Regions from separate parts of the Homo sapiens genome. Here regions 1, 2, 3, 4, 5 and 6 are each linked to region 7. Evidence: promoter capture Hi-C in human tissues and cell types (Jung and others, 2019). All regions are on one chromosome and are shown on one strand. Each heading gives the region's core, a stretch centred on a gene start or on the middle of the fragment in contact. The rest is flanking DNA. Distances are from core to core; before and after follow the strand shown.

What was found. The method cuts DNA at HindIII sites, captures the fragments that hold promoters and counts their contacts. A contact is called where the count stands out against the background at its distance.
Region 1: a fragment that was not itself captured here is called in contact with the fragment with the promoter of UCHL1 in region 7 in 2 of the 25 tissues and cell types used here (dorsolateral prefrontal cortex and hippocampus).
Region 2: a contact is called between a fragment that was not itself captured here and the fragment with the promoter of UCHL1 in region 7, in 2 of the 25 tissues and cell types used here (dorsolateral prefrontal cortex and hippocampus).
Region 3: a fragment that was not itself captured here is called in contact with the fragment with the promoter of UCHL1 in region 7 in 2 of the 25 tissues and cell types used here (hippocampus and stomach).
Region 4: a contact is called between a fragment that was not itself captured here and the fragment with the promoter of UCHL1 in region 7, in 2 of the 25 tissues and cell types used here (hippocampus and mesenchymal stem cells).
Region 5: a contact is called between a fragment that was not itself captured here and the fragment with the promoter of UCHL1 in region 7, in 1 of the 25 tissues and cell types used here (bladder).
Region 6: a fragment that was not itself captured here is called in contact with the fragment with the promoter of UCHL1 in region 7 in 1 of the 25 tissues and cell types used here (hippocampus).

The regions. Positions count from the first base shown.
Region 1 is chr4:41,040,352-41,044,260 of GRCh38, forward strand. All of the region lies in intron 4 of APBB2 (amyloid beta precursor protein binding family B member 2), which reads right to left. Among named protein-coding and RNA genes, the nearest start is that of APBB2, 170 kb to the right of the region's middle. The HindIII fragment of the contact is 8,647 bases long and covers 1-3,909 here.
Region 2 is chr4:41,070,245-41,073,996 of GRCh38, forward strand. All of the region lies in intron 3 of APBB2 (amyloid beta precursor protein binding family B member 2), which reads right to left. Among named protein-coding and RNA genes, the nearest start is that of APBB2, 140 kb to the right of the region's middle. RefSeq lists an enhancer at 1-85. The HindIII fragment of the contact is 4,450 bases long and covers 1-3,620 here.
Region 3 is chr4:41,090,929-41,094,922 of GRCh38, forward strand. The region is part of intron 3 of APBB2 (amyloid beta precursor protein binding family B member 2); the gene reads right to left. Among named protein-coding and RNA genes, the nearest start is that of APBB2, 120 kb to the right of the region's middle. The HindIII fragment of the contact is 4,749 bases long and covers 195-3,994 here.
Region 4 is chr4:41,411,333-41,415,462 of GRCh38, forward strand. It overlaps a transcript of LIMCH1 not described here. Among named protein-coding and RNA genes, the nearest start is that of LIMCH1, 120 kb to the right of the region's middle. The HindIII fragment of the contact is 4,812 bases long and covers 1-3,660 here.
Region 5 is chr4:41,456,657-41,460,680 of GRCh38, forward strand. It overlaps a transcript of LIMCH1 not described here. Among named protein-coding and RNA genes, the nearest start is that of LIMCH1, 79 kb to the right of the region's middle. The HindIII fragment of the contact is 5,437 bases long and covers 1-4,024 here.
Region 6 is chr4:41,429,559-41,433,220 of GRCh38, forward strand. It overlaps a transcript of LIMCH1 not described here. Among named protein-coding and RNA genes, the nearest start is that of LIMCH1, 110 kb to the right of the region's middle. RefSeq lists an enhancer at 3,029-3,662. The HindIII fragment of the contact is 3,886 bases long and covers 1-3,621 here.
Region 7 is chr4:41,255,115-41,259,290 of GRCh38, forward strand. UCHL1 (ubiquitin C-terminal hydrolase L1) reads left to right here and starts at 1,814. Exons shown (of 9, transcript NM_004181.5): 1 at 1,814-1,895; 2 at 2,001-2,012; 3 at 2,495-2,623. The coding sequence starts at 1,863. UCHL1-DT (UCHL1 divergent transcript) reads right to left here and starts at 1,613. Exons shown (of 3, transcript NR_102709.1): 1 at 1,445-1,613. RefSeq lists a silencer at 1,930-2,689 and an enhancer at 2,524-3,024. The HindIII fragment of the contact is 4,741 bases long and covers 1-3,825 here.

The DNA of each region.
Region 1 (3,909 bases), core at 1,078-3,577, 210 kb before region 7:
CGAAGTACTTCTATCAGATGACTCGGGTCCTTCCAGCACTAACGCTATATAACATTTATTGAATGCTTATTATGTGCCAGGCATTGTGCTAAGTAGGTACTTTGTAAGGATTATCTAACTGATCACCTCCAGCAACCCTATGAAAAAGATATGGTTATTATGTCAGTTTTACAGATTAAGAAACTGAAGCACAGAGGGTTAGGTAACATGCCAAAGATCCCACCAGAGGCAAGTGATGGAGCTGGTACCAGCTGTTCACCTCTAAAAAAGAGGCTCAAAATCATTACACCATGTTTTTTGGAACTCTTCTCTCCAAGTTGACTCAAATAGCCTAAATTAATTAATGCCACAAGACAATTCTCACCACATTACTAGGGTTCTTTTGAAGTTTGTGTCCAACATCCTCATATACATGGCAACTAAAAAAAAGGGGCCTCTCAACTGCTGGTAGGCAAAACCTGAGTCCTCTTGTTGCTTGCAGCTGAGAAAAGCAAAATAAAGCACACTTGAGAACATCTGCAAATTTTTTATTTTTTTATTTTTTTTTGAGATGGAGTCTCGCTCTGTCGCCCAGGCTGGAGTGCAGTGTCGCAATCTCGGCTCACTGCAAGCTCCGCCTCCCGAGTTCACGCCATTCTCCTGCCTCAGCCTCTCGAGCAGCTGGGACTACAAGCGCCCACCACCACACCCGGCTGATTTTTTGTATTTTTAGTAGAGACAGGGTTTCACCGTGTTAGCCAGGATGGTCTCGATCTCCTGATCTTGTGATTCCCCCACCTTGGCCTCCCAAAGTGCTGGGATTACAGGTGTGATCCACCATGCCCGGCTACATGTGTGAAATTTTAACTCACTCTGGGGGTGGGTTTTAAAGTCAGAAAATAAAGCAAAATTCAATAACAGTCAACTATTTAAAAAAAAATCCTTTAAATTGCCTGCTTAGTACAATACACACAGTTTCAGTTAAACAAGTAAAATGTGTATAGTCTTGTAATGCATGCATAATGAAGAGTATTTAATAAGTATATGGAATGCAAAATTTCATTCCAATATTTTTATTTCTGCACAGAAGTGTACACACTGAATTGGCATATAACATTGTACTCTATGGGAATAAACTTGAATTTCTTACATTTTTGGAACATTAACCGTTACTGGTAATAATTTTTTTGCCATTCACATAGCTGGTCACTGCATACCTGCTGTTAAAAATCACAGCATTGAGAGATCCTTAATTTACCACTTATATAGTCTAAAACAGAGAGAAAAAAGTTGTGGCAATAAAGGTCCAAGAACTAATCCTATCACCAATTTCTTTATCTTTCGCAAAAATACTTAAGGACATTGATTTATGATCCTAGCTCTTTATCTTACTCCATTCTGTGTTCTCCAAGTGAGATTTCAAAACCAGTTCCAAGAACACTATCAAACAAAGAAAAATATGCACAGACAGAAAAAAAGCCTATTTTCTGAAATGTATCCCAGGGGAAAACACCAACAACTGGAAAAGAAATATTTTCAAGATATAACATTAAATGTAGATTTTTCCATTTAAGAGTTATCTTTATAACACTTAATCAGAAATTTTTTCAATGAAGCAAAAGCTTTATGCTTCCCCCACAAATATACCTGATCTCCAACTTTCTTTTTTTTTATTTTTTTGAGGCAGTCTCACTCTGTCACCCAGGCTGGAGTGCAGTGGCGTGATCTCAGCTAACTGCAGCCTCCGCCTCCTGCATTCAACCGATTCTCCTGCCTCAGCCTCCTGAGTAGCTGGGACTACAGGTGCGCACCACCACACCTGGCTAAATTTTGTATTTTTAGTAGAGATGGGGTTTCACTATGTTGGCCAGGATGGTCTTCATCTCCTGATCTCATGATCTGCCTGCCTCAGCCTCCCAAAGTGCTAGGATTACAGGCGTGAGCCACCGTGCCCGGCCTGATCCCCAACTTTCATATTCCAAAGGCATTAACATCTGCAATTTAGAAATAACTGCAATGTTTAATGCTTCTAAGATGTGCCAATTTAAAATATGCTATTGGACAACTATAGAGGACTAAGTTAATGACCCCAATCAACAGCGTCTCTGCATCCTTGCCCTCTACTCCGTAACCTTGCAATCCCTTTCCCCTGGCTCTGGTCTCAACTGTGTTGTTTTGGCCAACTGGATGTTAGCAAATGGGATGACACAGAAGCTCAGAATGTATGGACCCATTTCTGCTCCCCTGAAAAAGACAGGATCTGTGCTACTGCCATAAGAATATGCCTAGGCCTGTTGGAAGGGTGTTGGGAGACTTGGGTAGGATGGCTGAATCTTCTTGGTCAGGCCATTTTTGACCACCCTAAGCCAGCCAACCATCAAACACATGAAAGAACACTGCAAAGATCAGCAGATCTGTCTACTACCCCTGCAGCTGACTGTAGCCACATGAGTGAGCTCAGCAGAGACTATGAGAAGAACCACTCAGCCATCCCAAAAATACTAATGGCTATTGTTTAAGCCACTGAATTTTGGGGTGCTTCATTATGCAGCATTAATTGTGGCAATACACAATTGATACACTAGTTATAGCCACAACAACCAAATGAGATTGTAGAAGAGCTGTGGGATGAAACCTAAACTGATCCAAGAAAGGTATAATGCTATGTGAGGATCCTGCGGGGGGAATCTATTTTTTATTTTTTTCTTTGAGGTTTATGTTCTCCCTAGGTTACACAGGGCTGTCTTGATTAATACAGGCTGCATCTTTAGTCTCTACTGCTAACTGTTCATTCACAGCACATCAGCATTTATACTTTGCATATTAGAATATGCTGTGACAAAGCAAATTTTAGGTATTTATCATAAGGACAAATAAGCAGTATTATTTCTATTAGAAAAAAATCAAAAACAAGTTAAATGTCCATCATTAGGAAACTGATTAAATAAAGGATCACATCCTACAATGGAATACTATGCATCACTTAAAAGTGAGGCTGCTTCTATATTTAATTGCACAGAAAGATATTTACTAAATAACACTAAATGAAAAAAACTAACTGTAAAACAGTATGATGAGTATATAGGTATTGCCTACACAATGCTTTCAATTTTTCTGTTTGAAACTTCTCATAATAAAAGTTGGGAGAAAGGCAGTATGTATAGTGTCATTCTTTCATAAAAATATTTTAAAATCTTTTTATGGTAAAATAAAACACAGATGAAGAAAACCACACAAAACAAATAGCTTACTACAAAGAAAACACCCATAACTACCATCTTAATCAAAACACAGCTTTTGCTTGTTACCCTAGAAGGCCCTCCATGCCCTTCCCTTCCTCCAAAGTAAACAAACTCTTGAATTTATGGTAATCAGTTCCTGGCATTTCTTTATGATTCTGTTACCCGAGTGTATAATCCTAGTCACCATTAGTGCTGTCTATTTTTAAAATTTTGATGTCTTTTAAGTTATTTAATCTACATCGCCTCTATCCTTTTCTTTTCCTTACAACTTATTTGTTGAAAGAGTCTGGGCTGTCTGAGTTATGGAGTTTCCACAGTATGAATTTTGGTGGTGCATGTTTAACTCGTTTCTCCAACCTCTGAATTGCCTGCAAATTGGAGCTAGATTCAGAGGCTTGAACAGATTGAAATTCAGTCTGTGGTGGTATGATCTTTCATCAGGAAGCACATGGTATCTGGTTTTCATTCATTTCTAATGTTAGCAGCCATTGTTATTCAATGCCTAAATCCACTAAATCCACAGGGGTTGGAAAACAGTGACATTCCAATTATTTAATTTCATTTTCATCTACTGGGTGGAAAAATTTTAGGAGATGCTTTCCTTCATCTACCACTTGGTTTTCCAGTGGTACAGTTCATGTAAGAAAGAAGCTGATTCTTTCCTAACTACTTTCAAGATGATGAAATG
Region 2 (3,752 bases), core at 146-2,645, 190 kb before region 7:
TACTTCTTTTATAATAAAAGAAGCCCTGAGGTATCATGATCTTACTGGACACATTTTATTTTATTTTACTTATTTATTTTTTGAGACAGAGTTTCACTCCTGTCGCCCAGACTGGAGTGCGGTGGTGAGATCTCGGCTCACTCCAGTCTCCGCCTCCTGGGTTCAAGTGATTCTTGTATCTCAGACACGCAAGTAGCTGGGATTACAGGCATGCACCACCACACCCGACTAATTTTTAGTAGAGACAGGGTTTTACCACATTGGCCAGGTTGGTCTTGAGCTCCTGACCTCAAGCGATCCACCCGCCTCGGCCTCCCAAAGTGCTGGGACTACAGGCGTGAGCCACCATGCCTGGCCTGAACACATTTTATATTACGCAGCAGCACAAGGTAATATTTGTCTAAAAATAACTTTAATAATAAAGCTTCCAAAGGTGAGGAATAGTTTTTTTTATTAGTATGTACCACGTGACATTTTTCTGAACTGTTAAAAAATAACTTGATCCTGAAAACATCAAATCTGATTGTGTCCATCTGACTAGCAATATCTCGGGAAGGAAATCAACCTTTGAGACTTCTTTCTACTCTTAAGAACGCTAAGATCAAGATAAATATACGCTATTCACTTGAATGCAAGCCATCAAGGAAAGGAAGGGAATATATTTGCCAGTCTACAAAGTGTTTAGTGTGCAGCTTTTTAATTACTGCATTTACGGTACTAGCCATAATATATTCACTATCACAAATGCTCTACAAAGTCATTAATCCTCAACAAATACATTAATGCTTCCCTCCTCTCCTACAAGTTCTTACTATGCTGATGTGGGGCAAAAATGCCAAGAATTCTCTCCAAAGTAAACATTTCATGCCAACAGCCACTAGTTCTACAATGCTCATTTCACTATTTTAAGATATGTAATAGCTCTGCTTAAGCATTTCCTGCTGTTGACCTAAAAGATAAGTTTGTACACAAAAAATTTTTAAATGGCTTTACTTAAAGCAACAATTTTTAATAGAAAGGTGATGTAAGCTATCTAAAAGGTTGCTTATGCTCTTCCAAAATAATATATTCTATAATTCAATAATTATAATTCTCTGCATCATTCTGCAGTTATAGTACAATATAATTTCTGCTTTTTAAAATCTCCAGGAATAGGCCGGGCACGCTGGCTCACACCTATAATCCTAGCACTTTGGGAGGCCAAGGCAGGCAGATTACCTGAGGTCAGGAGCTCGAGACCAGCCTGGCCAACATGGCGAAACCCCATCTCTACTAAAAATACAAAAATTAGCCAGGCGTGGTGGCGGGCACCTGTAATCTCTTCCACTTGGGAGGCTGGGGCAGGAGAATCGCTTGAACCCGGGAGGCAGAGGTTGCAGTGAGCAGAGATCATGCCACTGCACTCCAGCCTGGGTGACAGAGCGAGACTCTGTCTCAAAAAAAACAATTAAAATTTTTTAAAAAAAATCTCAAAGAATAAGACATTGAGAATGATCACGATTTTCAAAACAGCTGAAGGATTACCCATTTAAGTATCAAAATGGGTTTAATTTCAACCATAGTGGATTAATTTTTTTTTCTAAAAGGTAATGCCTTCTTCAGAGAATCCAGAATATGATTAATCTTTGTTTGGTGACACAGGATCATCAACATGACTATAAATTACTTGCTCTGCTGGAACATGAGAATACTAACTCCAAGGAAAAGGAGTGGCAGCAGTTACTGGGTAGGAGCTGGGTTTCTACCACCACAAAGAGAGCTGGATGGGGAGTTACTACTAAAGCACAGGGTGCAATGAGAATCAAAAGGAAGAGACTGCTGAAGTTCTCACAACAAGGAAAGCACAGATATAAATACACTCTGGAGAGCCCAAGGGGAAATCCAAGTTACAGAGCCAGGTCTGAAGTCAAGAGCTGTGGCCGACTAGAGTCAGGATCTGAGTTGGAGATAAATTGATGGCGAATAGAGGGAGAGGGTGTGAAGTTGGCTTTGTGTGTATCCTGCTGGTAACTGGGTTTAACCTGCCCATTAAAGGCCAGTGGCAAGACAGCTGTTCTCAGAAGCTTCTGAGGCAACAGAGGGCTGTTTATTCCTCTACTCAAAGGCAGATGGCGGCTAGGCTTTGGGGATATGTGTCTGCCTTTCACAGTCTGGCTATCTCCTCTCCTTTGTCCTAAAGAGTTGCATCTCATTTCTGTTATAGTACCAACCTTTCCCTTCTTCAAGTCAGCTATGATTTTGGAATTCAAATAAAATAATGAAGTGTAAGAGAACGAAACTTAAAATACCAAGCTCCAGATAAGATCTGAAGGGCACAGGGCACGGCCTCTGAACACATACTTGGGCTGTTGTGATGCCTTTTTTGTTTATTTCTTGGTTCTTAGGGAATTCAAATAGTGTTCCTTAAGCAGAACTCATTTGAAGTCATTTAGCCAAGCCTAAAAAACCTGCCCGGAGCGTGTTATTTCTAAGTGACCACTGTTATTTAACAAGCACCTCCTTTGGAGAAATTCAATAAGCAGAATCTCCAGAAACACAACAAAACCAATTGCCCTGATGTGAACAATCTAGAAATGTGGGAACAAACTCAGAACCTGAAGAAAGGGAGGACTTTACCATTGCATACATTAAGTGACTGTTGGCAAATCAATTAGCCTTCCAAGCCTCATCTGTAAAATGGGCTAAGGATATCTGCCTTGCAAAGGTATGATTGAGAACAAAAGGAAAGGCTCAGAAGAGATCTACAAATACGAATTACACCTTAATTAAGTGGTAACAAATGTGAATTACACCTTAATTAAGTACATAACCCCCTACAACACACAGATCTTTATTTAGACCTTTTTTTAGACTAGGTCTTGTGCCTAGTAGTTTCTATCCAACTTTCACCACCCCAGATAAGATTCTTTTTCCCAATTATTTCCACAGAACATTCTTCTCGGCTAAAAAATATTTTTTACTTCACTGCTCATATAGCAAGAACAACTACTCCTGAATTTTCAGAGTAAAAAAAACCTAGAATGTAAAAATTCCCCATTATGATTTTCCCATTTTGTTTCTTCTTAACAACTTCCTATCTAAGTTCTTTTCTCTTTCTCCCATTTTTCTTTATAGCATCTTTGTGGATCTTATTTTCTCACTTTAAGTTCAACACTTGCTGTAATGTGATTTAGCAGTTTACAAGGCACCTTCACATATATTACCTTATTTCCCTTAAATTTCTTCTATTCTCTTTGTTTCTTGCCTTACTTTCAGAAATACAAACAGAACTTTCTAAAATCAGCAAAGAAGCAATTTTTCACCTTCCAACTGCCAACATACTAATACACAATACTTGGCAGAGCTGTCCAAAGCAAGTCAGACCACATACAGTATACCTAAATCCTGACACCTCCAACTCTCTTAACAAATAATTTTTTTTCTCCGTGGTAATGGTCTCTTGGAAGTTAAAATATAGTGAGAAATGTGTAAACATACCAATATATTAAAATAAGACAAGTGAATCCCTTTAAGAATCATGAAAAATAATTAACAACAACAACAAAAGAAAAAAACAGCAGGAGGCCCAGTGAGGTGGTTCACACCTGTAATCTCAGCATTACAGTGTGTAATGAATACAATGATACAATGAAGCTAAAGTAGTAGGATCACTTGAGGCCAGCAGTTCAAGACCAGCCTGGGCAATGTAGCAAGACCTCATCTCATCAATTAAGCAGTCAATCAATATGCTAGCAAGTCGGGTGTGATGACAC
Region 3 (3,994 bases), core at 1,319-3,818, 160 kb before region 7:
AAACCTAATGTCATTTCCAGACTACCTAGACACTGCTCTTCCTCTCCTGGTTACTGCAATAGTCTGTAAGTGTGAATTAAGTCCATGATATGCCATGTGATCTGATCCCCTGGTGTATTTGTCGGCTTATTTTATTGTCACCCTCACACTCTCCCTAGATACCATCTGAACTCATCCCCCATCTATGAGGTTCCTCTCCCCTTGCTTTGGTATTTTATTTCCCATCACTGAGCCAACCAATCAGAGTTGTACTAGGCACTCTGCTATCTTCTCCGGAAAAAGGGGTACCCAAAGCTGAGTTAGATATAGTCCTTGCGAGGTAATTGTCCACAATTTTTGTTTGCAAGACTTTGTTTAAAATGCAATACAGTTTTTGCTCCAACCTCCACTTCTGCACGTCCAAAGCAGCCCAAACAAGGAGTGCAGCTACAAAGTATGCTAGCGAAGTCACCCCCCGTTTATTTGCAGATACTTTTGTATACATAATGAAGCAAAAGAATAAAAAAGTAAGTAATTTTTGTGAAGATGTCAACATTTTTACATCTTGAAAAACTTCATAAAAGCTCTCCCAAACAAGACACTGTGGCCTTTTAGGGGAGCAACATATCATATACTCTTTCTTGCATCCCTACTTCCTTCTTGAAGTTGGTGAGGGATTGATTGTGTCTTTCCCATCACTGAATCACCAACACCTTGCAGAGTTATCTAGCACAACACAGGCAGTCCATAAATATCTGCGGAGTAAATGAATGAATGAGGGGCTCATGATTATTTCTTTCTTCCACAACACTGTGATTATATATTAAGTACTTTTTTCTTAATCCCAGCTCCTCAAGATCTTTGCTCCATTGATTATGTCCTCTTAAAAGGCAGCCCCTATATAGTAACAGGTTTGAGGTCAGCAAAAAAATCCAACCAAATACCCAGGAACTTAACAGCAAGGTAAGTAACCTTGAGCAAGTTTTCTAACCACTCTCTATGCTCTATTTTTTCTTATCTATAAAATAGACATGTTTTGCAAGGTTTTCTGGTATTTGTGAGATCTGAACACAATTTATGTAAAGGGCCAGGCAGGAATCCAATAAATGTTGAATAAAAGAATAAATTGCCATTCTCTTCTATGGTCCAGATCAAAATGCAGCCATCAAAATCTAATTTGCCAAAGCTGATCTTCATTCAAACAACAGACATGCATCAAGGGCTGTAAGGCACAACTAGAGTCTGTCTGCTGTTGAACATCAAAGGAGGAGTTTAACATCTGCTTTTAAATGCAGGAAAACAATAATTAGTTCACAAGTAAAAGGAAAAGTTATATAATCTGATCTTATTTGCTTTACCAAAGTATCAAAGTATTAAGGGATTACCAGCTTACAGCAGACTGAAGCTTTCTTGCAGGAATCACATAATGGGTGGAGGCAAACCTGGAAGTGGGTTTTTAAAGTCGGCATTCCTAGCTCCTGCTTTTCACTGTCAAGAATGCAGGAGCCAAGTTTGCCCTTAGTTTAAAGCGCAGAACTAAGCAGCTACAGACAACAAGAGTAAGATTTGGTCTGAGTCTGAGACCAGCCTGGCCAACATAGTGAAACCTCGTCTCCACTAAAAATACAAAAATTAGCCAGGCATGGTGGCGCGTGTGTGTACTCGCAGCTACTCGGGAGGCTGAGGCAGGAGAATCGCTTGAACCCGAGAGGCGGAGGTTGTGGTGAGCCGAGATTGCACCACTGCACTCCAGCCTGGGCAACAGAGTGAGACTCCGTCTCAAAAAAAAAAAAAAAAAGTACTTGGTCTGAATAGAGTTTTCATTCAACTGTGCTTGCTCTTACAGCAATCTAAGATGTAAAACTTCAAAAGAGAAAAATATCACCGGCCTCTGTTCAACTTTAAATTCATGAAAGAAAATATGAAACTCTGCTGTGGGAATACATTTGTTTTTGCTGTACAACAATGTTTTAAGAGATCCATTCTGCTGCTGTTTCACCCTCTCCTTCAGGCCAAGCAGAGGCCAATGGGGATAAAGAGCTCCCCTGTGTTCTATTTCCAGAACACCTGAACTTACTGTCGACTGAGGCTACGAGAGCTATTTAGAGGCCCTTACCTTCCTCTTTTCCAGTAACATCAGCAGAAACGAGCTATAAAACTTTCCCTAGGGTTTGGTTTCCTTTCTCACAGCTCAGTTGTGCTGCTCTCCTGGAAGATGAAAGAAACCCCAGAGTTTTTCAAAGCCCAGATGAAATGTTGATCTCAAGTAATAATTTCCATTTTCTTAAAAGCCATCATTTCCTATTTTACTCAGGCACACAGAGCATGAAGCAAAGCCTAAACTACCTCCTTAGGGCTCATGAGAGTAGATGCAGTCAGTAGTTACAAGAGCACGTGAACTCTGCTTTAAAAACAGCAAAGGGTCATCCTGAGATAAACATAGGCTATAACGCTGAAGTGCTAAATTCTGTCCTACAAGTTCACAATTTTGGCTTCCTTTTAAGGGTATCTGAGCAAAAAGTGGCTTCCAAGTGGATAAGGATTTTTTTTTTCCCTAAGTTCCTAATGAACCAGGTACATGAACCTATGATCACAACCTGTTTTCTTACCCATCCTCATTTCCCAGATTTTTTTCTTGCCAAGGGTTAAAAAGTTCGTAAGAAGGGCCGGGCGCGGTGGCTCATGCCTGTAATCCCAGCACTTTGGGAGGCCAAGGAGTGCAGATCACCTGAGTTCAGGAGTTCAAGACTACCCTGACCAACATGGAGAAACCCCCACTTCTACTAAAAATACAAAATTAGCTGGGCGTGGTGGCGCACGCCTGTAATCCCAGCTACTTGGGAGCCTGAGGCGGAAGAATCGCTTGAATCTGGGAGGTGGAGGTTGCGGTGAGCCAAGATTGTGCCATTGCACTCCAGCCTGGGCAACAAGAGCGAAACTTCATCTCAAAAAAAAAAAAAAAAGTTCATAAGCAGAAGAGATGGAATCCAAACCTATACAGTCAGTCTGACTCCAGGGCATCTGACAGTCACTTGCCCTTAACTGTCACTTTGTTGTCTAAATCTGACTCCAGCAGGCACCAAACAAGAGTGACTGTCAGCTATGTGAGGTAATCCATATGTTAATTCGCTTAATTTAGGATTGACACAATGTATACATATTTCAAAACATCATGTTGTATACTATAAATGTATACAATTTTTATTTGTCAATAAAAATAAGAAGAAGAAAAAAACAAGTGACCATTGGCCCAAGGGGCTCCACATGAGTTTAGAGACTGAGGTCCTTACTAATATGAGTGACAATGTAATATTTTTTATGAACTCAAAAATATCATTTATGACATTGGAGTTTTATACCTGCTGCAGCAATGAAGCAGCAAGCATAGCTTTATAGCCTCCAAAAAGGGCTTGCAAGAAGTACACTTTACTCTTCGCTTCAGTCTTTGACAGCAAGTCACAAATTATTTTTCAGATAAAATGGCAATTAGGAATTTCTTGAAACTTTAACCATCAGTCCAAACACCAAACTAACATCCAAGAAGCCCTTTTTAAGTTCTACTGGACTTTAACTGTATAACTGCAACTGAAGCTTTACCTATAGAATGAAAAATTATTTAACTTTAGAAGACAGAAGGAATCTTAGAGATTATTAATTCTATCAGCCACTTTTTTTAAGAGGGAGTCTCCCTTTGTCACCCAGGCTGGAGAGCAGTGGTGCGATCTTGGCTCACCACAACCTCTGTCTCCCGGGTTCAAGCGATTCTCCTGCCTCAGCATCCCGAGTAGCTGGGATTACAGGCACATGCCACCTCGCCCAGCTAATTTTTGTATTTTTAGTAGAGACGGGGTTTCGCTATGTTGGCTAGGCTGGACTCGAACTCCTAACCTCAAGTGACCTGCCTGCTTTGGCCTCCCAAAGTGCTGGGATTATAGGGATGAGCCACCGCACCCAGCCTCTGTCAACCACATTTTATTGAGTGTTATCTGCCATATTTTATTAAGCAAGGTGCTAC
Region 4 (4,130 bases), core at 5-2,504, 160 kb after region 7:
TCAGCCGAAAATTACTATGTTGCTGGGTTTTGTTTTTGTTTTTTTTGTTTGTGTTTTTTGAGACAAGGTCTCACTATGTTGCTTAGGCTTGGACTTGATCTTTTGGGCTCAAGCAATCCTCCTGCCTCAGCCTCCTGAGTAGCTGGGACTATAGGTGCAGGCTACTGCCCAGCTTGCTGTTTTTCTTTTTATCAGGAAGTTCCCTTGAAGCTTTAAGCAACCAAACCTGACTTTTTCCTCTCTCACAAATGGCTGGGATTCATTGCCGGATTGATCGCTCCACCACTCACTCTTGTGGTCCACCATCTGCCAATGGACTCAGCTTTTAGGGAAAAAAAAAAGGATAGGCTGGGTGTGGTGGCTCACGCCTGTAATACCAGCACTTTAGGAGGCCGGGGCGGGCAGATCATGAGGTCAGGAGTTCAAGACCAGCCTGGCCAAATGGTGAAACCTTGTTTCTACTAAAAATACAAAAATTAGCCCGGCGTGGTGGCAGGTGCCTGTAATCCCAGCTACTCGGGAGGTTGAGGCAGAAGAATTGCTTGAACCCAGGAGGTGGAAGTTGCAGTGAGCGAGATCTCTGCACTGCACTACAGCCTAGGCGACAGAGCGAGACTCCATCTCAAAAAAAAAAAAAAAAAAAAAAAAAAAAAAGGATAGCCCTGACACAGGTTGAAAACCTGTTACATGGATCACAGAGAATGTGCATTTTTAAAAACCAGCCTCATTAGCAGAGATTATTAGCTATGTCCAACTAAGTTCCCTTTTAAAAAAATGTTTTCTTCTGTATTAAGGCTGTGACCCATAGATCTCATCCTCACAGCGGGGCATTGGAGTTGGTGCAGCTGAGCAGCAATTTATTAAAGGTACAAATTGAAGATTTCATATGGCACTTGGTCTTCCTCATGCCTCTTGTAGCCAAATATTTTTAATAGTGTCTGAAAAAAGTGTCAAGTTGAAAATTAGAGGATACTAAGACATGGAATATAATTAGGTACTGAAGAGATATGATGGCTGTTGTTCTAGGTGCTGAATTGCATATCTCAATCTGCATTTTTCTTTCACTTTTCGGGTTTGAAGACTTAGATAATCCCAGTATCTACAGAGGTTACTTAAGGATACTAAGTGACATGAGGTTTTATAGTCATAGGGGGAAATAGAGGTAAAATGGGAAACTAAAACGTTAATATTTAGGGCAGTATTTAAAAAAAGAATATAGTAATTGGGTCAGTTTATATATGTATGCATGTGTATGGGAAAGTCAGTGCATTGGAAAAGAGAGAAGGTTTTTTGCATTATATTCTAATACCATCATGTGTTAGAATCATGCTTTATAGGTGGGGAAATGAGCAGTAGAGAGGCTAAATGAGAGACCAAGAGACTCTGGGGAAGTGAGGACAGAGCTGGGATTGAAACACATCCTTCTGGATTCAAGTACACTTGACCTTTGCCTTCTGGCTGAGTGGATGGCAAGAAGGATCCACCATGTCAAGAGAAAAAATTAAAAGGGAAGATGTTCATCTAGGGGACTAGTGTGATATCACTGACTTTGCACTAAAAAAAATGGTTTAGCTCAACTCTGGGGGTTACCAGCTTTGTAACCTAGGTAAGTTGCTGAAGTTGGGGCCTCAAATCTGGAGATCCTCATAGCTAAAGGGAAAGGACTTTTTGAGGATAAGCTTATCTACCACCTTTGAAGATTGAGATAATGTGCATGACAATATCTGGAACTTGATAAATGTCAAATTCCCTTCTCCTTCCTTTACATATTGATCTGTAAGTTGTTTAAATTTTTGCTCATGACATTGTTTTCTCCTGAGTCCTCTTTGTCTTAAAAAAACTAACAGAGAGCCATGTTATTATATGCAACATGTAGACATAATAAGTTTTTTTTTTTTTTTTTTAAATATCAGTTTTGTGTGTTGTAAGGTAACTTCCAGGTAAGTTACCTTATGGCCAAATGGTTTGAAGTCTCATGGAGCCATGAAAATGTATCTACAATTTGACTTTTTTTTGAGACAAGGTCTCATTCCATTGCCTAGACTGGACTACAGTGGTGCAATCATAGCTCACTGCAGCCTTGAACCCCTGGGCTCAAGCGATCCTCCCACTTCAGCCTCCTGAGTAGCTAGGATTACAGGAACATGCCACCATGCCTGGCTATTTTTTTTTTTTTTGTATTTTTTGTAGAGATGGGGTCTTGCTTTGTTGCCCAGGATGGTCTCAAAATCCTGGCTTCAAGTGATCCTCCTGTCTCAGCTTCTCAGTGTCCTGGGATAATAGATGTGACCCTGGCCTATAATTAACTTTTAAGAAAATAGCAATAGTAGTATAAAGACCAAGAGAAATGGCAAGATGTTAACATCTTATGCCATTTGTTCTGGTGGCAGTGAATATTTATTTAACATGGCTATTATGCTGTGGAGTGGTTAATGTCCAGATCAGTTCCACATAATGTAAAGCCGACCTCAAGTAGGAGGAGGATAAATGGGTTAAAGGAAAAAAGACTAGCAGAGGTTCCTGTGGTTTATAAAAAGGAAGTGGTTGAGGGAGAAGATTAATGACTGAGGATTAGTAAACCGGGGTTAGCTGGTGCAGTTTTAACGCAGACCTTAAAGGGGGGCAGGGGCCTGCCTTTCTCCAGCCTGGTAGAATGGGAAATATCATTAGAGGGTAATAAATATATTTAGTTTAAACTTCAATTCCTTATGTTTACATGAGAAAAGATTAGATTACAGATTTATTATAACTCATTCTCCCAAATATCTGGGAGTAAATAAAACATGATATAATCCTGTATTATTCATATTAACAGGATGGGGGGGCAGGAAGAGTGTGTGTGTGGACAACATAGGACAATGAATAGTATGAAAACCACTGATCACTGACAGATCCCTCTTCTGTTTTCTTCCTGACCTTCTTGGTTTGACAGCACTAGACGTAGCCGAGTTCTTAGCATGAGAGAAGGGGGTTGAGAGGGAGAGACAACTCACGTACTACTGAAGTTGATTATCTTAAATTAAAAAACCGTTATCCCGATCTACCCCCTTAAAAACTGTTTTCCTCTCAACTTCTCACATTCCATGAAATATACTTATAAGCCTCTAATGCCTGACTTGATCCTTACCGTAGTGATTAGAGTCAGATGTTTAGACACGCTAGACTAATCTAATGCACTTTGACTTGGCCGCAGCTAAGACTGTAAATCCGTATGTCAGATACCGGGCGATTGACATTTTTGTTATGACCGTAAATTATGCTGGACCTGGAGCCTGATGTAAAATTATGCATTATGTCACTGTGTCAACTACTCATCATGGAAGACTTTGTCTAATGTTGGTCCTGAGTGTGAAATTTCATACTCCTAGAATGCCAATTTCAAATTTAGATGTCACCCATGATGATAAGGTTTTATAATTTGTGCTTTAAAGCAACTTAAATCTTACAAGTGGGTCTCAATATATAAAGAATAAAATTAATGCTTTTAAGGAATGTTGTACACGTATTGTGGTCACAATATCTTGAAAAGAAAATGTTGATAAAATGGAAAGTAAACACAATAGAGTGGTTAGGAACACGGACTCTGGAATCAAACCTTAGTTTGAGTCCAGGTCTTTCTTGCCGCTTATTAGATGTTTAATCTCTCTTAACCTCATCCCCCCTCCTCCATATATACTACAGGAATAACAATATAATACCTGTTTCATAGAGACATTGTGATGGTTAATTGAGGTGACGCATGTAAAGGCTTTAGGCTGGTACCTTGTGAGTGCTCAATAATTACTAGCTACAGTTAACAATAATAATAGAAATAAATATTAAGGGTACCACCCTTAACATCTCGAATTTGTAACCTTCCTGAAAATGCAGAGGGATTAATTTCTGTTGTTGTTTTGATGTTGATATTGTAGAACATATTAACTTTTGTCCTTTCGCTCCTGAAAGCCATGTGGAGAATGTCAGTAGTGTGTCCTGAAGATGTATTATTGGGAGGTGACCTGATAATGGATTTTTAAAACCATCTAGATAAATAGATAAAATAAAATTCTTTAAACTTTCCATCCCCTCTCTTGCCCCCTCCCCTCCTTGAAGAGAAATTTTATGGCAATAATATGTATATGATTTCCATG
Region 5 (4,024 bases), core at 131-2,630, 200 kb after region 7:
TACTTTCAATGGCAAAACAGTGGCTGAAAACAATGACAGCATTTGTTTCACTCACAGACCAGCAATTTGGTCAGAGTTCTGCAGGGCTAGCTTGTCTGTTCCACTCACTGTCAGCTGGGTCAGCTCAGAGGTTTGGGGCTGGAATCATCTGAAGCTTGTTTGCTCACATGTCTGGTGGTCGATGCTACAGGTCAGCTGAGACTTTAGCGAGACTGTCAACCACCATACCGACATGTGGCCTCTCCATGTGGCCCGGGCTCCCTCACAGTATGGGGGCTGAGTTTCAAGGTGTGAAGACAATATTCTCTTCCTATGTAAGAGCAGCAGTCTCTGTCACAGAGGCTAAGACCATCAGAGCTTGAGGGCACAAAGGGAAATTCTACTTGGAACCTGGCATATCAAACCTGAAAATTCAGAACTTATACTTTGGTTAGATACAGAGAAAATGCACGTGTGCTCTCTACAGTAGATGTAACAAATCTCTTGAGTTTATTAGATACATAGCTCTCAATTTAGACAAGTTTTCTGAAATATATACCTTAATTTCTCAATTGGCAATTAATTTCATCTTGCTTTCACAGTCTTACTGACATTATTCTGCTTGTAATAAATTTGATTATCTTGTTGAATAGGTATAGACAGTTTATTTTCTGGAGGCCTCTAGAAAGAGACCTTGAGGAGAATTATGGATTGATATTTTTATATAACGTAGGGAAATTATGTGGATTTTAACTGGGTCCATTATACCATTGGCTTGAGAGGTGATGTGATATTAATAAGAACTAACATTTTTTGAGCATTTTTTCTGTCCTAGGCACTGTTGTAAGTACTTTACATAAATTGCTCATTTAATCCTCCCAATAGTACTGAAGCAAGTAGTTTTATTATTTTTATTTTATAAGTGAAAAAACAGTGGCCCAGGGAGGCTAAGTAGCTTAGCCCAAATCATAGAGTCACTCAGTGCTGGGGCTGAGTTAGAACGTAGGCAGTGTGCAGTTTGGCTCTGGAGGCCACATCCCTAACGAAGGTGAAGGTAGACTTTGGACAAAGCCATGGCCTTTGACTTTCATTTCTTTTAAGAAATCACATGATGCTGCATTTGTGAACAGTTATGCAAATCCATTCAGAAAACATTTGCAAATCATCTGACTGGAGATTTAAAAAAAATCCTTGAAATAGCATCTTTGCCTTCAAAGACTTTGTTATTTAGTAAAGGTATTAAAATAAGAACATAACTAGACTATAAGGCAAATAATGGATAAATAGATGAGGAACTACGAAATGGGAAACCTCAGGGAAGGGCAAGAAAGAGAAAGATATTTTGAAAATAGGAGGCAATTAATAAGTATGTTGATAAGATGACTAAAACAGTATAATTGGATTGTTTGTAACACAAAGAAAGGATAAATGCTTGAGATGATGGACCCCATTTACCCTGATGTAATTATTATGCATCGTATGCTTGTATCAAAACTTCTTATGTACCTCATACACCTGCTATGTACCCACAAAATTTTTAAAAAAATGGATGCATAGTATCTCACTCGATGAAAGGAAGAACTTGTAACAAGCCAATCTCCTTCTTTTTGCACATTAATCTTGCTTCCAATTTATTTGCTACTACAAAATGATTAAAATGAGTGACTTGTAAAAAAACCAAATAAATATGTTGAAATTAAATCAAAGTTTGAACAGATCTTGAGAGGTACCTAGTAATTGAATAGGGGTGGAATAATACTAATCACATATGTGCAGGAAACAGCACATAGTTCAGTTTGGGTTTGGGCAAGGAGAGAGTAGGAGCCAAGGCTGGAAAGGTGAGTTAAAGATGGATTGTGGGCCAGGCGTGGTGGCTCATGCCTGTAATGCCAGCACTTTGGGAGGCAGAGGCGGCCAATCACGAGGTCAAGAGATCAAGACCATCCTGGCCAACATGGTGAAACCCCGTCTCTACTAAAAATACAAAAATTAGCTGGGCGTGGTGGCATGCACCTGTAATCCCAGCTACTCAGGAGGCTGAGGCAGGAGAATGGCGTGAACCTGGGGGGCGGAGGTTGCAGTAAGCTGAGATTGTGCCACTGCACTCCAGCCTGGTGACAGAATGAGACTCTGTCACCAAAAAAAAAAAAAAAAAAAAAATAGATTGTGAGTCCTTTCTTGAATATCAGGCTAAGGAAGCTGAACTCTTTCCTGAGACAATGGGAAGGAACTGACAGTGTTTAAATAGTGTACTTGAGTGGAATGACTTTGCATGAACTTATATGAACTTTTGAGGCATCCTGAGTCATTTAGTTGCTGTTCAACCTGCTGAAGTTGCTCTCTAAGCCTCATTATATTCAGTTATAAAATGGGAAAAATAATATTGATTTCATAGAGTTCTTATAAGGAACTAGGATATGCAAAACTGCCAATAACATGCTTGGCACTGTACAAGTTATGATTTCTGAGATACTTTTGTATCATTTACTATTTGGAAGATGAACATGCTGATTATGGCTGAGTTTCATGGCAGTAATTACAAGGATAAAGAGCTTAAAGAGGAAAATTTAGTTAGGATGGTGTATTAGTGTTCAGTAAGGAAAAGAAAAATCATTTTAGGTATTTCTTTGCCTCCCTCCTTCCTTCCTTCCCTCCCTCCCTCTGTCCCTTCCTTCCTTCTTTTTTGACAGGGTCTTGCTCTGTCACCCAGGCTGGAGTACAGCAGCTTCAACATGGCTCATTGCAGCCTCGACCTCCTGGGCTTAAGTAATTCTCCCACCTCAGCCTCCCAAGTAGCTGAGACCACAGGTGTGTGCCAATGCATCCAAATAATATTTTTAATTTTCTGTAAAGACGAGGTCTCACCCTGTTGCCCCAGCTGGTCTTGAACTTCTGGGCTCAAGCAGTCCTCCTGCCTCAGCCTCCCAAAGGGTTGGGATTATAGGTGTGAGCCACTGTGCACAGCCCATTTTAGGTATTTTAATGGAGGGAATTTAACAGAGGGAATTAGGTATGTGGATGGTATAAGGGCTAAGAACTAAACAGGAGGCAGGGAAGCAACCCAGAGATTAACAATAGCAAGAAGCTACCACTAACTACTCCTAGGGCTGAAGGGACTTAGGGAGGATATTTTTACCTCAGCCCAGAGACAGGGGCTGCTAAGTGGGAGCTAGAACCATGACGAAGCTTGCAGTAAGAGCTGCAATGTGGAGGAAGGTGCTGACCAGGGAAAGCTAGAGCATGGAGGAGAAATGACCATTGCTAGAGATGCCACCTGAGGCGAAGATAGGGAAGGGAAGATTTCCTGCCTTTTCCACACCTCCTGCCCCAGTCTTCGCCCAAGTCTCTCACTGATGGATGAATATCAGTGAGACTTTCTTACCTGGAAGCCGACTGTCAAGGGAGCCTGGGAAATTTAAGTTCCCTTTGATATAAAGCAGAGAGGGGGTGTGGGCAGTAGGATATGGATCTTAGAGTCAACAGACAGAGGATCGGCACAGATAGAATTCTAATTGACTATAAAAATCTGCACAGTCAATATGGTAGCCACTAGTCAGGTGTGACTATTTAACTTTAAATTGAAATAGTTGAATTAAAAATTCAGTTTCTCAGTGCACTAGCTGTATTACAAATACTCAATATTCACATGTGACTAGTGGCTACCATATTGCATAGCGCAGATGTAGAATATTTTGATCGTTGATCATGACATGCTACGTGAGCCCCAGGTTTGCTGGAACATCCTTCACCTATATTACACGTTGGCCTTGGTCTGTAGAATGAGGTGATGCATAGGTAAATTTGTTCCACTATAGTAATCATCTATATATATATATATATATATCTTATAATATCATGTTATAGATCTTAAATATACACAAAAAGATTTTTTTTAAGTTGTTTGTCAGTTTTAAGTAGAGATTTAGGTGTGTTGGTTATACGATTGATTCTCAGTGCTTTTCAGTATTTTTCTAATTACTCAAAGTAAAAATATAAATAATTTTTAAAGGCATAAAAGCCCGAAAGAGCCACCTGCTTTAATCAT
Region 6 (3,662 bases), core at 429-2,928, 170 kb after region 7:
AGTATTCTCAGATTTGAACCTATAAAGAATTATGGAAAAAGGATGGTGAGGTCCGCAGAAGTGGTCATGGCACTTATATTTTTCCAGTTTGCCTTTCTTGATTTTTCTTCATTAAATTTTCATTCAGTGTTTTTATCAGACAGGATGTGTTAGATGATGCTGCAGTAACAAATGATACCCAAGTCTCAGTTGCTTAAAGAAACACCATTTTCTTTATTGGCTATGCTACATATCCATGGAGGGCTGGCCTTCATGTAGGCCTTCATGTAGATGCACGTTGATAGATATCCCCCTGTCACCAGTTACAAGGGAAGGAAAGGAAACATGGTGAATCATGCACACTGTCTTGTGGGATTTGGCTTAGAAGTAATATTACTTCTGCTCATATTCATTGGCCAGTCAATGAAAGGCAAGTCAAATGGCCATGCCTAACTTCACATGGATGGGCAGGGAAACACAATCCTATAATGTTCTTGGAGGAAGGAGAATTGGAAATATTTGGTGAACAGCACTAAATTCCTAATACAGTATAGACGTTACGTAAGTCAAATACCATAATAGAGTCTAGGGGCACAAAGATGAATGGAGTGTATTCTAATTCTAGAGAAATTATATTTTTTGGGGGAAATAGCTTTATATAGGAATTTCAAAATGATGGTGATGAAGCTAAGATGTTTTTAAAACCATTTCTGTATTTTATTATATTTATCTATTTATTTTTTGAGACAGAGTCTTGCTCTGTTGCCCAAGCTGGAGTGCAGTGGTGCGATCTTGGCTCACCACAATCTCTGCCTCCAGAGGTTCAAGCGATTCTCTTGCCTCAGCCTTCCGAGTAGCTGGGACTACAGGCACGTGCCACTACGCCCGGCTAATTTTCGTATTTTTAGTTGAGATGGAGTTTCACCACGTTGGCTAGGATGGTCTCGATCTCCTGACCTCAAGATCTGTCTGCCTCGGCCTCCCAAAGTGCTGGGATTACAGGCTTGAGCCATCGGGCACCCTGCCCCCATCTCTGTATTTTAAAAGATTAGGAATGTTTCCTTTGTTGTTTCATTTCTCCAGTTTTTGTAAGTATGTTCCAAAAGTTACAAATAGCTACTAAATAATCTTCAGAACTTAAATATGATGAAGAAAAATTGGCTTTACTTAATTTTACATAATGTTTGGGTCCTTTCTTGAATCTTTATATGTGAAAGACATCATTTTTGTGGTTTTGCCATGCTTTAGCAGTCTAAAAATTGAATGTGCCTAAGGAGAATAACTTTTTTATTACATGCTGGCTTAAATCTCAGACAGAATTCCATTGAAAGCCAGTTGGTTTTCTGTTTTGTTTTTTTTTTCTATGTGTCTTTCAGTGCTGAAATTGGAAATAAACCAGCATTATGGCTTCATGACGGAAAGTGTAGCAATTCTGCACAATGCACAAGCAAGTTTGTCATTTAAAATAGCAGACATCTGTCAGAAGTTGGTGCTGACCTTCTAAACTGCAACTGAATGTTCAGACTGTTATTTCTCCATCCTCCTCAGATGCATTTCCAGTGTTGGGCTCACAGCCCCATGCTTCTTGTCTGCTTCCTAGTGGGTTATGGGTTGTGTCCTAGAGTCTAGACATGAAATGAAAAATGATTATGTAATCTGTTTCCCTTCTTCTCTGCAAAATTCAGAGGAAGGGTCAAAGCTTTGAGACATACCACCTCCCCCTGCTTGGTGGAAAGAGCAGATTTTGAGGATCTATAGACATAGAGTTGGAATCTTGGCCAGCCCCTTCTTACCTGTAGAACTTTGGGCAGATTGCTTTATCTCTTTAATTCTCAGCTTCCTTCCCAGTCATATGAAGAGCATAAGAACTGTTTCAGTGGCTTGTTGTGAGGGTTAAGTATATGGTTTATATAAAATGCCAACAGTGTCTGACATGTAACAAGCACCCAATAAATATTCCCTATTGGCACAGTGCTTACTGGTTTTTAAAGAACTTCATTACATTTTATCTCATGGGACTACATCAAGGAGGTAAAAGGCATCTAGCTGAATTAGTTTTCCATTAACTTTCCAAGAAAATAAATACAGACTGCATTCTCTTGGAGTCACAGTTGACTTCGCAAAGATCTTATTTTATTATGATATGTGTATGTTTTCTTCTCTACTCACATTTTCCCTCACCCATCATCTGTTACATTACATATAGACTGAATCCTCTACACTTTTTAAGTTATAAATCTTTTCTTGTGCTATTATGAGTTTTGGGTGATTACTTCAGCCAGCAATGGATGATTAAGGGCTGAGGGGATTGGTGTTCATACTATAGGAGAAGAAAACAAAAACTTTGATAATTTTAATAATAATGACTAACACCAATTGAATAATGATTCTGTGCCTAGTTCCTAATTGAAGTTTTCTTTTTTCTATGAAATCATAATTAATCTTCTCTCCACTCTGTAAGGCAGCTATGACTATTACTTGCACATTGCAGGTGAAGAAATTTAGGCTAGGATGTTAAATAATTTGTCCAAGGCAGTATACTTAGTAAGATTAGCACTGGAATTTAAATCCGTGATTGTTTGATTTCAAAATTGCTGTTTTTCCCCACTCAGCTCTATAGTACAGATAAATTTGGGTTTAAAATAGGGAGGTTATATTGCTGGCTGATGCGTGTTGTGTGAACACTGTCTGAGTGGATTAATTGTGGCAGCTAAAAATAACAGGGTGTATTGTTGACTTTTTGTACAGTCTAAACTTCTTTTCTGGATGACTTTAAAATATGAGTGTGTTGCTGCTCTTGATTCCTAACAGAGAACTTTAGAGACCTGGAAGCCTGTCCTTTGTGTAACTCTTTACGTATAACGTCAGATTCTGTGGACAGGTGGCCCCTGATCTGCATCCCTAACAGGAGGGTTAGTACTGAGAAGTAAGGGTAAAGATAGAAGCTAGAAAAACAAATAGGCTGTACCTTCCTGTCTGAATTATTCTCTCATTTTTCTCATCCCTGACAACTTTCTCAATAAATTGTCCTAGCAAGTAAATCCATGGGTCTCTATCCTTGTTGGGAATAGCATCATTTGGGCAAAGCTTTGCCATCAATTTTTCATTTAAAAACATTTCCTAAGGTAAACATTAAGGCCTGAATGACAGCTATAGTTTGAGATTTTTACTTTGAATTATGAGGCTTACTTGGCTGGACACCATTTTTCAATGGCAACGATCCTTCCTGTTTTAAAACCTGATTGTTAAAATACAGGACATATGGGAGATCTTAAAAAGATCAAGTTCCAAGTATAATTCTTTTTCAAGTAGGCAGTGGAGTCTGGTGCATAATGTTCCAATCTAGTTTCACGGTCCTTTTGATCAACCCAAAATAAAACTGAACAAGACAGCATCTCTCAAAGGGTTAATACCCTGGAATTTCACACTTAACAATCGGCATTATGTTCTTTGCATTCTTGAGGAATTTTCTCACTGATGTCAAAAGACTTTGGTTTGTTATGCAAGACAGTGGTCCAGTGACTTTGCATATCACATTCTCTTAACATGAGGGAAATCCTTGCATGCTAATTGGAGAAGGAAAAAAGTAGTGCAAGTGGTTCTTTGGCTACAGATGAATTAAATGAGGGAGGGCATTTAGTGAAAAAACAAAGCACAACAAAACCCTTGCAAATGAGCGGGCA
Region 7 (4,176 bases), core at 564-3,063:
ATGGCGTGAACCGGGGAGGCGGAGCTTGCAGTGAGCCGAGATCGCGCCACTGCACTCCAGCTTGGGCGACAGAGCGAGACTCCGTCTCAAAACAAAACAAACAAAACAAACAAACAAAAAAACGGCATGAGGGAAATTTCCATGTTTATTGTGTTCATCTTTGTATGCCTAATTCCAAACTTTCCAAGCTCGGCACCCAGCACACAGTAGGTTCTTAATATTTGTTGAGTGAATGAATAAATGAAGTAAATTGGAAATGTAATTTGTCTTTGTCTAAAGGCAAGAACTCATTCAATATAACCTAGTCACTTGTCTTGACCTTCACCTCTTTTTTTCTTTAACAACCTTATTGAGGGAAAATTTACATACCATAAGATTCACCCATTAAGCTCCTCTTACTAATTTTTTTCTCTCTCATTTTTGTGTGTGAAGGTCATTTTCTAATGGCAAAAATGGAAAGAAAATAGAAGTAGAATGTTGTGGAATCTTAGATAAAGAATGGGCTCTTGGAGCCCAGTTTAGCAGGGTTTACTTCTCAGTTTTACTTTTCAATTGTGACCGTAAGCAAATTAACTTCTCTAGGCCTGGGATTCTGATCTGTAAAATTGCACTAATATGAGTCTCTTCACGGCTCCTCTAAGGATTAAATGAGAGACACATGCAAAGGATCCCCAAAAACAATAACTCAAAAAATGTTGATTCCCTCCCTTCCCTCTGTCATCTGTTAACCTCAACTTCCTAAATAGAAGGTCTATTCTTTTACCATCATCATTATTCTCTTCGGTGCCTATTTTTAAAAAATACTCAACCTTCTTGCTTCCTTCGCTACCTAAGTATTTCTGCAAGCCCACTTTGTTCTGCAGCTTAGCTTTCCTGGCACAATTCTTATAGATTTTGGTCCCTTTTAAAATTCATTCTTCAGCAAATGCTTTCTCTCTCCATCTTTTGACTAGAGATCATTAGAGATCACCTGAGATCATTAGAGAACAGTGGTTTCCTTGGTTGCCATTCCCTTTCTTCTTCATTGGGAGTATTCTGCGGTGAACTCAGACATTTTATTTTTCAAAGCTTCCCATTCTTTTAAAAATGCTTTTCCTTTTACAGCCTCTCGCTCAAAATCATACCCATCTTTTCCCTGGATCTGTTTTCTCAAGTCTCCAATCGCCTGCCTTCTTTGTGTCTTGTATTACCCTCACATCCCCCAGCTTTCTACTGCTCTCCCAGGACCAACCATTTCTTCCGCGGGAGTCACATTACATCAGCATTCCTAATGCAGTATCTGTTATCTACCAGATTCTGTTTTATTCTAGGTAGTCACTTAAAAACGAACCTCGGTACTGGTCTGACTTAACATGGAGGAGGAATTGTCTAAGGTTAAACGCAAACTGCTGAGAGATTTGGGGCGGGGGGCACACATTTACATTCATTCGTATTAAATATATACCTGTTGAATTTGTGCTTTTTCTCAAATGCTTCAGAGACTCGAGCTTTAGAGTAATTGGGATGGTGAAAGGATGGGTTTCCAGAAACTTCGCCCAAAATTAAAGACTCCATCAAAAGGACTGCTCCATACACTCAAGGAACACCCACCAACAAATCCCGTCTCCACAACCACCAGATTATCTCACCGGCGAGTGAGACTGCAAGGTTTGGGGGCCCGGCCGTACCACTCCGCGCTGCGCACGGGGGGTTCGTACCCATCTGGCCGCGACCGTCCGTTTCCCCCTCGCTTGGTTCTGCCCCTGCTCCCCCTGCACAGGCCTCACAGTGCGTCTGGCCGGCGCTTTATAGCTGCAGCCTGGGCGGCTCCGCTAGCTGTTTTTCGTCTTCCCTAGGCTATTTCTGCCGGGCGCTCCGCGAAGATGCAGCTCAAGCCGATGGAGATCAACCCCGAGGTGAGCGCCAGGTGCACCGCTACCCGGAGAGCGCGAGGCCGAGGGAGGGGGAGCCGAGTCGCTGATCGGTTCGGTTTTGCCTTTTTCTTTGCATTTGCCTTTCAGATGCTGAACAAAGTGAGTGGCGTCTCGCGCCGTCTCTGGCCCCCTCCCCCGCGAGCGCCGAGGCGGGGGCGCCCACCGGTTCCGGCTGCTGGCAGGGACCAAGCCGCCCGCTGCGAGCACCGGAGACGGCCGGGCTGGGGCGTGGGCTGGGCGCCTTTCCTGGGCCCCTGCATTTAGCGGGTGACTCTACGAAACCGGTCACGGGGAGACGGAGGGGGCTGCGCCCCGTGGCGAGCGAGCGCCAGGCGGAGCTCCCGAGGGCGTGGCGCGGGCAGCACAGACTCGGCTGCACGGGCTTCGCGGGCGCCACGTGTGGGCCGCGCTTTGTGCTGTGTCATTGCGCCGGCCCGGGTGGGGGTGGCAGGGCGGGACTGGGGCTCCTCCCAGGCTCGGGTGCGGGCGCGGAGGGCGCGCGCCTCCTGGCCCCGCCCCCTGGCAGGTGCCCGCGACCCGCGTGTCCCCGTGCGCCTGGCCGCCTTGTCTCCTCTCCGCAGGTGCTGTCCCGGCTGGGGGTCGCCGGCCAGTGGCGCTTCGTGGACGTGCTGGGGCTGGAAGAGGAGTCTCTGGGCTCGGTGCCAGCGCCTGCCTGCGCGCTGCTGCTGCTGTTTCCCCTCACGGCCCAGGTAGGGCGTGGGGCCCAGGATGCGCCGGCCGCCGGCAGTGCACGCCGCTCCCCAGCTTGAGTCCTCGGGGGCTCCCCGCCCCGCCCCCTCCCCTGTAGGTGATGCGGGGCGCGCCTACAAGGAAGGGAGGAGCCTGCATTTTCGTGGTACCTACTCCCTGGGCTCCTGTTCCAGCGGTGCCTGTCGCCTTCTTGCCCATCCGTCCACAATTGCCTTAAATTTGGAAGAGAGGCAGTATCTCAGTTCCATCTATCCCGTTATCCAGGGAAATCATTCATCCTACTCATGAGTTCCCTCGAACTTGGGCTTTTTCGAGCCTCCGGTTCCGGGGAATGGCTGCTGGTTTCCCTTTAAGGGCTATAACCTGTCAACTCATTGTTTGCTTCTCAGACTCCCACCTAGCTGTAGAATGGAGGGGGAAGGGCTGACCTAAATCGCAGGGAAACAATTAGGTTCGCTAATTCTCCGCCTCCATTACTTGGGTTTCTGATGGTCTTAAGGGGTTCTTCTCTCTTCTCCACTCCCACCACTTGCACACTTGGTTTTTAGCCTCTTGAATGTATTTCTTAAAGCTTAATCATTTTGTGTATGGTTTCTGTGTGGGAACCTCCTTCCTCTTCACTTATCCTTGTTCATCTCTGACCTTGTAGCTAACTGAAATAGGGGGTTATTAGCTCAGTTTTGAAAGCACCTTTGCATTTCCCTTGAAATGATTTTCCTCCTACAAGTGTGCATGGATAGATGTATCTGAAAGACAGCGTCAGATTTTTTTTTTTAAAGGATAGCTAGGATATTTGCAGTCTTGTGATGTATGGAATCCCAGTCATTAGCGCATGGCATTGTCTTATCTCCTATTGCTGTCACTTGACCGCTGATGTGGGAGTGACTGAAATTAGCTTTAGCAAAACTTGGGGCATCACTCTAAAGAGTGAGGTTAACTGAAGCACCGTCCTAAGGCTAGGTGTTCTGGAAGCATCTGTAGCCAAAATCAAGAGTATGGGAAGTTCCAAGCCTTCCTCCTAGTAAGTAAGCTAAGTATTGTGGGTAAAAACACTTATTTACAGCTAATAAGATGATCTCACTGACATGTTTTTATTGCTAAAGTCTTTTACTTGGGCTAAAAGGAAGATGCCAAATTGTTGGAAGTCGAATTAGCTTCCTGGTTGACCAAATCAGTCTCCTGTCTCCAGTTGAGCATCACACAGAGGTTTTTTATTAGAGCAACCATGATGACTCGGAGGTTTTGAGCAGCATTCAGAGGCAAGGCCTCTGGGAGGCAGTGGTGCAGCATGTTTGCCTTTAAAAGCTGACTGTTCTCCTTTTGCTGAATCTTGTTTAGAGAACATTCTAGTTTGTGTTATGTTTGAAAGAGCTCGATACTTTGTCCTTTAGTTTCAATTCAACCTATCAGATTTATCGAGCGCCTATTCTGCTACACAGAATGCCTACTGGACAAAACACTGAAGCCGATTGAAAGAAAAGTTGAGGTTTTATAGGTTGACTCCAAAGATGCTAATGTTAATTTGGAAGGCATTTAATTTTTGACTAAGGGA